Regions from separate parts of the Homo sapiens genome. Here all the other regions are linked to region 1. Evidence: promoter capture Hi-C in human tissues and cell types (Jung and others, 2019). All regions are on one chromosome and are shown on one strand. The core of a region is centred on a gene start or on the middle of the fragment in contact, and the rest is flanking DNA. Distances in the headings are between cores, read along the strand shown.

What was found. Contacts are between HindIII fragments. The study calls those that stand out against the background at their distance.
Region 2: a contact is called between a fragment that was not itself captured here and the fragment with the promoter of GNAI1 in region 1, in 3 of the 25 tissues and cell types used here (IMR-90 fibroblasts, aorta and mesenchymal stem cells).
Region 3: a fragment that was not itself captured here is called in contact with the fragment with the promoter of GNAI1 in region 1 in 3 of the 25 tissues and cell types used here (IMR-90 fibroblasts, lymphoblastoid cells and mesendoderm cells).

What each region holds. Positions count from the first base shown.
Region 1 is chr7:80,133,521-80,136,110 of GRCh38, reverse strand. It overlaps GNAI1 (G protein subunit alpha i1), which reads right to left and starts at 1,280. Exons shown (of 8, transcript NM_002069.6): 1 at 833-1,280. The coding sequence starts at 950. The HindIII fragment of the contact is 3,503 bases long and covers 1,088-2,590 here.
Region 2 is chr7:80,605,737-80,608,326 of GRCh38, reverse strand. It overlaps a transcript of CD36 not described here. Among named protein-coding and RNA genes, the nearest start is that of CD36, 32 kb to the left of the region's middle. The HindIII fragment of the contact is 5,690 bases long and covers 1-2,590 here.
Region 3 is chr7:80,430,692-80,433,281 of GRCh38, reverse strand. No RefSeq gene overlaps it. Among named protein-coding and RNA genes, the nearest start is that of GNAT3, 80 kb to the left of the region's middle. The HindIII fragment of the contact is 5,075 bases long and covers 1-2,590 here.

The DNA of each region.
Region 1 (2,590 bases), core at 31-2,530:
AGAACAGTGCTAAGAACAAATAAAAGCCTTGCGTGTACCTGGCAAATCTCATTCATCAGAAACGGTGGCAGCGGAGACAGAACCCTGTTGTCTGGCGTGACCCTCTCGCTCTTTCACAGCAGTTTTCACCACTCGAGTATCTGCCTTGCCTACTACTAAAGCAAAGCTTCCCAACCCCACTTGGGTGGCTTCCATGCCCCCACAGCAAGAAAAATCAAGCATCCAGCGCAGCCTTTTCTCAGCGCAGGGGGAATGTAATCAGCGCTCCTTGACCACTTAAGGAGTCGCCATAGGAAGTTAACAGGAAAGACGCTTCAGCCCCATCTCAGAGGCCCCACAAAAGGTGCACTGATTTCACCAAACGTGGCACTCTGGGCATGAGAAAACCACAGTCGAAACACAACCTACACCGCACACGAAGAAGGGTTTTCCGGGAGGGGGTTGGTGGCGCGGGGGGGGGGGTGTTTTCATTTTCTAGCCGCGAATGCCCCTTCATCTTTACAAGGCTGAGCTAAACTTCAAAGCAAAGGGTTTCCACGCGACCCGCCGCCTCGGACTCGCGCCTGGGCTCTTTGCTGGGTCGCACGAAAGCATCCGAGTGAAGTGACGCGCCCGCCCCGCCGCGGGGAGTCCTCGCCCGCCGGGGCGGAGAGAGACCAGACACCGGGAGAGGGGGACCCGCCTTGCCTCCGCACCGCCGGACCCAGCTCCCGCTCAGAAGCCTCCTCGGGCGCTTCCTCCCCCTTCCCTCCGGGTTTCCAAACGCCGAGGGCCGCGCAGCGCCGCACCCGGTCCCCCGCCGACCCCCGGGCCCCGACCCGGCCGCCCTTACCGAGCAGCAGCAGCTTGACCTCGCGCGCCGCCTTCTCGCCGTCCTCACGGAGGTTGCGGTCGATCATCTTACTCCGCTCCACCGCCGCCTTGTCCTCGGCGCTCAGCGTGCAGCCCATGGTGCCGAAAGCGAGAGCCTGCCGCCGCTCCCTCCGCGCCCGAGTGCGGGCTCCAAGCACAGGGGAATCCTTTCTCTCTCCTAGCGGGCGTTCGAACGCCTCCCGACGGGGGCCACGCCGCCCCCACCACTTCCTAAGCGGAGTCGAGGGAGACGCTGTCCGCAAAGGGGCAGACAGCAACGGGCGGCTGTTCCTCACGACCAGGCTCTGCTTCCCGGCCCGGCTCAGCGCCCCCAAGTCCCGGGTTTGGGGTTTTGAATCTCTGGGTACAGTGGCCGCTGCACTCCCGCCGGTGGCCGCGCCGCAGCCTCGCCAAGCCCAGCCGAGCTCGGCCTCCGCGCGCCGCCGCGGCCCCGCCCCTGCCCGCCCCTCCCACCACCCCGCGACCACTCCCAGAGCGCGCGCCCGCGCACGTGCCCTCGGACAGCGCCCCCCGGCCCCGGACCCCGGCGCCGCGCCACCACTGAGGGCCTGGCGCCCCCTGGCAGCGTCCCCGGGGCGCGCCACTGCCCCGCGGGGCTGTGGCCTTCTGCCCTGGGCGGGAGTGGGGTAATTTCTTTCCGTTTACTCACACGGAGGGAGCTGTGCGTACCTGCCCCTTCGGGTGGGGGTGGGAGAGCTGCCAAAGTTGCCGAAAAAAGCCAGTTCTGGGCGTTTGAGCATGCCCAGCGCCGGCAGCCACGCAAGGTTTTTCAAAATGCAAATCCCTGTCGGCTGGTTTCAGGGCCGTGAGAAACAGGGAACTGGGGAAGGAATGGAGCCTGGTGAAACCAGAGATGGGCACAGTGGAGAACAGGAAAGTCGGGGGAGGGGACTAGAAAAGGGCACCAAGGTCACTTTCTTCCTACCTTTTGCTTCTCTTTCCTTCTTCCTATCCCTCCCTCTTTCCTTGCACTCTCACGTTTTTCACAAGAACGCATTTTGAAGGATTTCCTCGTAACCTAAAAAAAATGGAAGACAAATAATCAAAAGTATTTTTAAATGACAAGAGCAATAAAACACACCCACACAAGCCAATCTCCACATCGTAGCAGATCTCCTCTAGAGCAGCACATAAGCTTCCATGCCAAATTTGGAGCCAATATTTATGACCGTGTTTGTAACTCCTGTACCATTGGGCATGCCATTTTTACAGGCCTTAGCTTCTTTGCCCATAAAATGAGGAGTGGATCTATGGTGCTATCTCCCCATCCTTCCAGCTGTAACAATCGGCGGAGATAAGTTCCTGTGGCCCGCGGGAGGCATTGCTACTCAGCACCCAATGAATGAGCAGAGGCTTAAGATCTCATCTCTCCCTGTCAGTTGCACTACACCTTTCCCCTACAGATATCACAGGAAGCGTTAACTGATTAGAAAATGGGGCTGGTAGCAAGGAAAAACATGGTCCTTGATGTACTAAAAATTGGAACATGCTCCCTGGTTTTCATCTGGAAATCTTATTCTCTAAAAATCATTTGGGAAAACTGGGCTTGAGTTTTCCAAGGTGAGGCTGAACTGATGATACAAGCAGAATAGCTTTCGAGTAGGTCACTGAGACCACGCTTGTGAGCTAGCAGAGACTGAGTTGCCTCCTTATGGGACATGTCCTTTCCTGTTCTCCTATGGGAGTCACACCACCTGCTGGGCTGATGAGATGCAAT
Region 2 (2,590 bases), core at 28-2,527, 470 kb before region 1:
CTCAACCAGTAATTTACTTCTCATTAAATACTAGGCACTTTGCATAATTATTTTTAGAGTGCTTTGCAGGTACCACATAGATAATAAATAGCTATTAAAATTTAACCATTTTATTTTAAAATAATTTGCAGGGGATATGTTATATGCATATATATTATTGAATGCTGGGATAAATTCAAGCCTAGTAAAAGACACTCATTTGGGGATTATAATTTAATTTTGAACATAAAAATGTACATCTTGAATCAGAACACATTAACAAGGTTATATGGCTCACGCCTGTAATCCCAGCACTTTGAGAGGCCGAGGCGGGCGGATCACGAGGTCAGGAGATGCAGACCATCCGGGCTAACACAGTGAAACCCCATGTCTACCAAAAATACAGAAAATTAGCTGGGCGAGGCAGCAGGCACCTGTAGTCCCAGCACTCGGGAGGATGAGGCAGGAGAATCGCTTGAACCTGGGAGGAGGAGGTTGCAGTGAGCCGAAATTGCACCACCGTACTCCAGCCTGGGCGACAGAGTGAGACTCAGTCTCAACAATGACAACAACAACAACAACAAAAAGAGTTTAGATACTTTCAGCTTGAGAACTTGACCTACTGGCATGGAGATACATGGGTCTGAAGTTGAGAAGAGTGATTGGAGCCCTAAGATGTAGATTGGGGTCTCCTCAACATTCAGATTACAGGTGAAGTCATGAAAATTGATAATATCACTTAGAAAGTGGGGGATGGGGAATGGGAACCTAGAAAATCTGCAGAAATGGAAACTGAGGAAAGCAATATGGCTAGACAAAGGCATAAAAGGTCACTAACTTCTACAAGCCTCCATGTCCTTATTTGTAAAAAATCAGTAGATCTTAGTTTTAGAGTGTGCTAAAAACTATCCCCACTTCTCCTATTTGTAGCTTTTGCTATGAAAAAAATGTAAACTTTGGCAGAGCAGCTGAAAGTAGACGTCCAGCCCTAAGCCTCAGAAAAAAAGAAAAGGCAAGCTTCATAGCTGTTGCTTTGCCATGGTAAATAATTAAGTGCTTTTCTTTTTCTTCTTTTTTTCAAAGGACCATTCAGATTGTTTCAGTTGCTTTTATTTATTCTACAGGATTTCAGCTTCAGAAACTCTCTTGCTGTTACTATGTACAGAAGTTTTGCATGGGAGAGTTGACAGAACAAAATGCTACCTTTAATACTCAAGAGGAATATTAATGGAGTGGAGAAGATAATGGGAGGAATTATAGTAAGCATCCTGTTTGCCTCTTAATAATAGGATTTATTTTTCACTTTGTTTAATCCTGTGTTTCCCAACTTCAGCTGGTAAACCATATAGAATTTTGTTGAATGATTATAACAGAGCTGCAGTACAAGGATAAAATACACAAAGATTGGAAGACTGAAGGGGAAGGAACATTCAAGCAGCTGTCTAGGTCAGAAAGGAACTAAGGGATGGAGAAAGAAAATGGGTGATGCCTGTACTTTTACCACCAGCTGGTAACCATCCCCCAATTTCAGAGAGGGTTTTGAGGGGATACGTGACTAGGCTAGCAAAGAACAGTACTGTGCATGCTGTGGTTGTTCATGAAGTGAAAAGTGGAGAAATCACAACCCTTTCCTGGAGGAAAGATTAGCAAATCTCCAAGATGACCCTCGGACCCAGAGTGAAATGGACTGAGCTAAATGTTTCTCTCTGGCTTCATCCAAAACTCAGTACATGCGGCAAAGACATCTAAGAGACTGAGCACAGTAGCAAGCACATCTAAGTTTTGCATGCAGACTGGGGAAAAGGACTAGGACATCATTGAGAGGCATTAGGTGAAATGAATGAGCTTCATGAATTGATTCACTGAGACATTCTCAGCATCTGTGAGTTTATATATTTAGCGTCTTGTAAATTATAGAATATTTCTCTATTAAATCCCATAATTCATTTTGTGAGTAGAGGATCTGTCCTATATTGTAAAAATAAACAAACCCAGCCAGACATGCTGGGAAGAACAGCAGTAGTAACATTCCATTAAACTACCTACCTGAGAATTTAATACAAAAAAAAAAGTTGCACAGATCTACGTATTATGTTACAGTAGAGCTCTACATCAATTTGGATATTTTTAGAAAAAGTGCTAAACATAAGAAAGAAATGTATCTAAGTTATTTACGTGATTCAAAATTCTTAAAATTTTAGTCATAGTCCTTAGTAGAAGATGAATATTTTGATTTAGGAAATATTTAGACAATATTTTAAATAAATGAATAAAATCTCTCTATTGAGTGCTTATTATGTATGAGTCAGGTACTGGGACATTGCTGTTACTAACACAAGTAGTTACAAATGGAATAGCTCCATTACCTTTATGGAGTTTATATGCCGGCAAGATGCTCCAACTCTAGGCAATAGCAAAGGTCTGTAAGGAATGCTCTTATCCCTGTATATTAAGCTTATCACAGCTCATACCTTTCTGCACTGTAATTCTTTGTCTATGCATCTGCTTAGATGTACCTATTGCCCAAACAGCTCTTAAAAGGATGGGGCTAATAGAAATTAAAGGTCTTCCCAGGAGACCAAGATAAAATCAAGACTAGTATTTATTCCCC
Region 3 (2,590 bases), core at 43-2,542, 300 kb before region 1:
GTGGCTCTCAGGTTTGCTTGGTCTATGTGGGCCTGGAAATTCTAGTAAATCTATTTGCTCAATAGGGTTTCCTATCTATTATTCATCATGGGTCTCTCCTATTTTGGAGAAATACTTAAAAATCATGGATATTTTCATGCTGTCAATATCTAGGATTCATTTGGCCTAAGAAAAGCTGAAAGCTGTGTAGTTTGACAAAAGACTTGCCAAGAAAGTTAAATATATCTAGTTCTCCTTTTCCCATGTTTGACATTTCCATGGAGGAAGGGAGACAAGGAAAGAAGTTGCAAATATATTAGCATTCTTTCTGTTTTTCTCTGCCTGATATACTCCATGGAATCAATCTTGTGTGTACATTTAGGGAAAAAGTCTTTACATGATTACAATAAGCCAGATCTCCCTTCTTCCTTTTTTGCCTCTTCACTCTCCCTCACTGAAAACCTCTGATTTAAAGGCAGGAAAGCTTTAAAAATGTACACACTTTGGGATTCAGCCCTGTTGCTGGCATGTGTCAATAGTTCATTCTTTTTATTACTGTGCAATATTCCATTGTATTGATATGCCATAATTTATTTATCCATGCACATACTGATTGACATTTGAGTTGTTTCAAGTTTGGGGCTATTACAAATAAAGCTGCTATGAATATCCATGTAAAAGTATTGGCGTGACATGTTTTCACTTATCTTGAGTAAATGCTCTGGAGTGGAGTGACTGGGTCATATGACAGGTGTATCTAACTTTTGAAGAAATGGTCAAACTGTTTCCCAAAGCGGCTGTACCATTTTACATTCCCACACCCATGTATGAAAATTTCAGTTGCTTCACCCTGCCAACACATGGTTTGGTCATCAACCTTTTACATTTTATTAATTCAAATAAGCATATATTACTCTCATTGTAGTTTTAGTTTTCATTTCCCTGATGACTACAAACATTGAAATTTTCATCTGCTTATTCACCATTCTTATACCTTCTACAAATTGTGTGAGTCCACTTACAAATTCTTGTGAAGAAAGTGGTAATGACTGAAAGCAAGTTAGTGATTGCCTTGGGACAAGGCAGAAGAAGGGATGAGTTGCAAGGGGCACAAGGAAACTTTTCAGAGTTATGGAAATTCTTGTTATCCTTATTAAGGTGAGGGTTACACAGACATATACAGATGTCACAGCAAATTAAATTATATACTTTAAATATATGCAGCTTATTGTATTTCAATTCAATTACACCTCAACTAAATTATAAAAAATCCAAAAACTTTATTAGAAGTAAACCAAAAGCAAAATTCTAAGCCTCCCAACCAACTGAACAGACTCCTCCTCACAGCCAAAGGCATTCTAAAGTTAATTTGAAAAACTAGTTCAGGCCATGATGGGAAATGAGGGTCTGACATGCCTCATTATACCCTTCTCCCTTTGGAATTCAAGCACAGTTGACCAACATTAACATGAAAACAGAGGCCTTAAGACTGATAGAACAGACTCTTTAAGACTGGTAAGAAATATTCCCTTCCACGGATTCTATCTGCATAATGGGAACCTCGCTGTCCATAAACTCTTATCTCAACCCAGACATTCCTTCCTATTGATTTTAGTCAATAACTTAACTCTTTAAACCAATTGCCAATTAGAAAATTCTTGAATCCACCTATGACCTGGAAGCCCTTGCTTCGAGTTGTCCTGCCTTTCTGGACTCAACCAATATACATCTTACATGTATTAATTGATGTCTCATATCTCCCTAAAATGTATAAAACCAAGCGGTAGCCCAATCACCCTGAGCACGTGTCAGGACCTCCTGAGGCTGTGTCACTGGTTCCAGGTGAGGTGTCAGAGCCTCAGCAACAGAAAATGGTTAATCACAGGTAGTAAGAAGAATTTACCAACGATGTTATTGGCAGTGAATCCATACAGGTCTGCAGCAACCTCAATTCTTGCTCCTCAGAAGAAAGAATTTGACTGAGGGGCATAAGGTAGAAGGAGAGACTGAGGCAAGTTTTAGAGTAGGAGTGAAAGTTTATTAAAAAGTTTAGAACAGGAACGAAAGTATACTTGAAAGAGGGCTGAGCAGGTGAGTTGAGAGAGTCAAGGGCCCTGTATGACCTTTGACTTGGGGTTTTATATGTTGGCATTCATCTGGGGTCATGTGTCCCTTCTCCCCTGATTCTTCCCTTTGGGTGGGCTGTCCACATGCACAGTGTCCTGCCAGCACTTGGGAGAGGAGCATGCACAGTGTTTTTAGTGAAACTATATGCATGCTCATTTGAGGCGTTCTTCCCTTACCAGCTGAATATCACTAGAAGGCCATACACCAGTTAAACTCTACCATTTTGCCTCTTAATGTGTGTGCTTGAGCCCACTTGCCTAACTCCTAAGATCTTATCAGGAAGCTGCTGATCCCTAGTTTCAGGTTTTTTGTGTTAATTGGGAGACTGCCTTTTCCTGGTGTTGGCTGTGGCCAATTATCTTAGAGAGACAGGTAACAACCACTTCACCATCACTTGATGGTCACCTGACATTTCTGGTGGGGGGTAGGGGGGCTCCCTCTCCTGCGGTGCTCATGTCTGACTAGCTACCTACTCTAACAATAA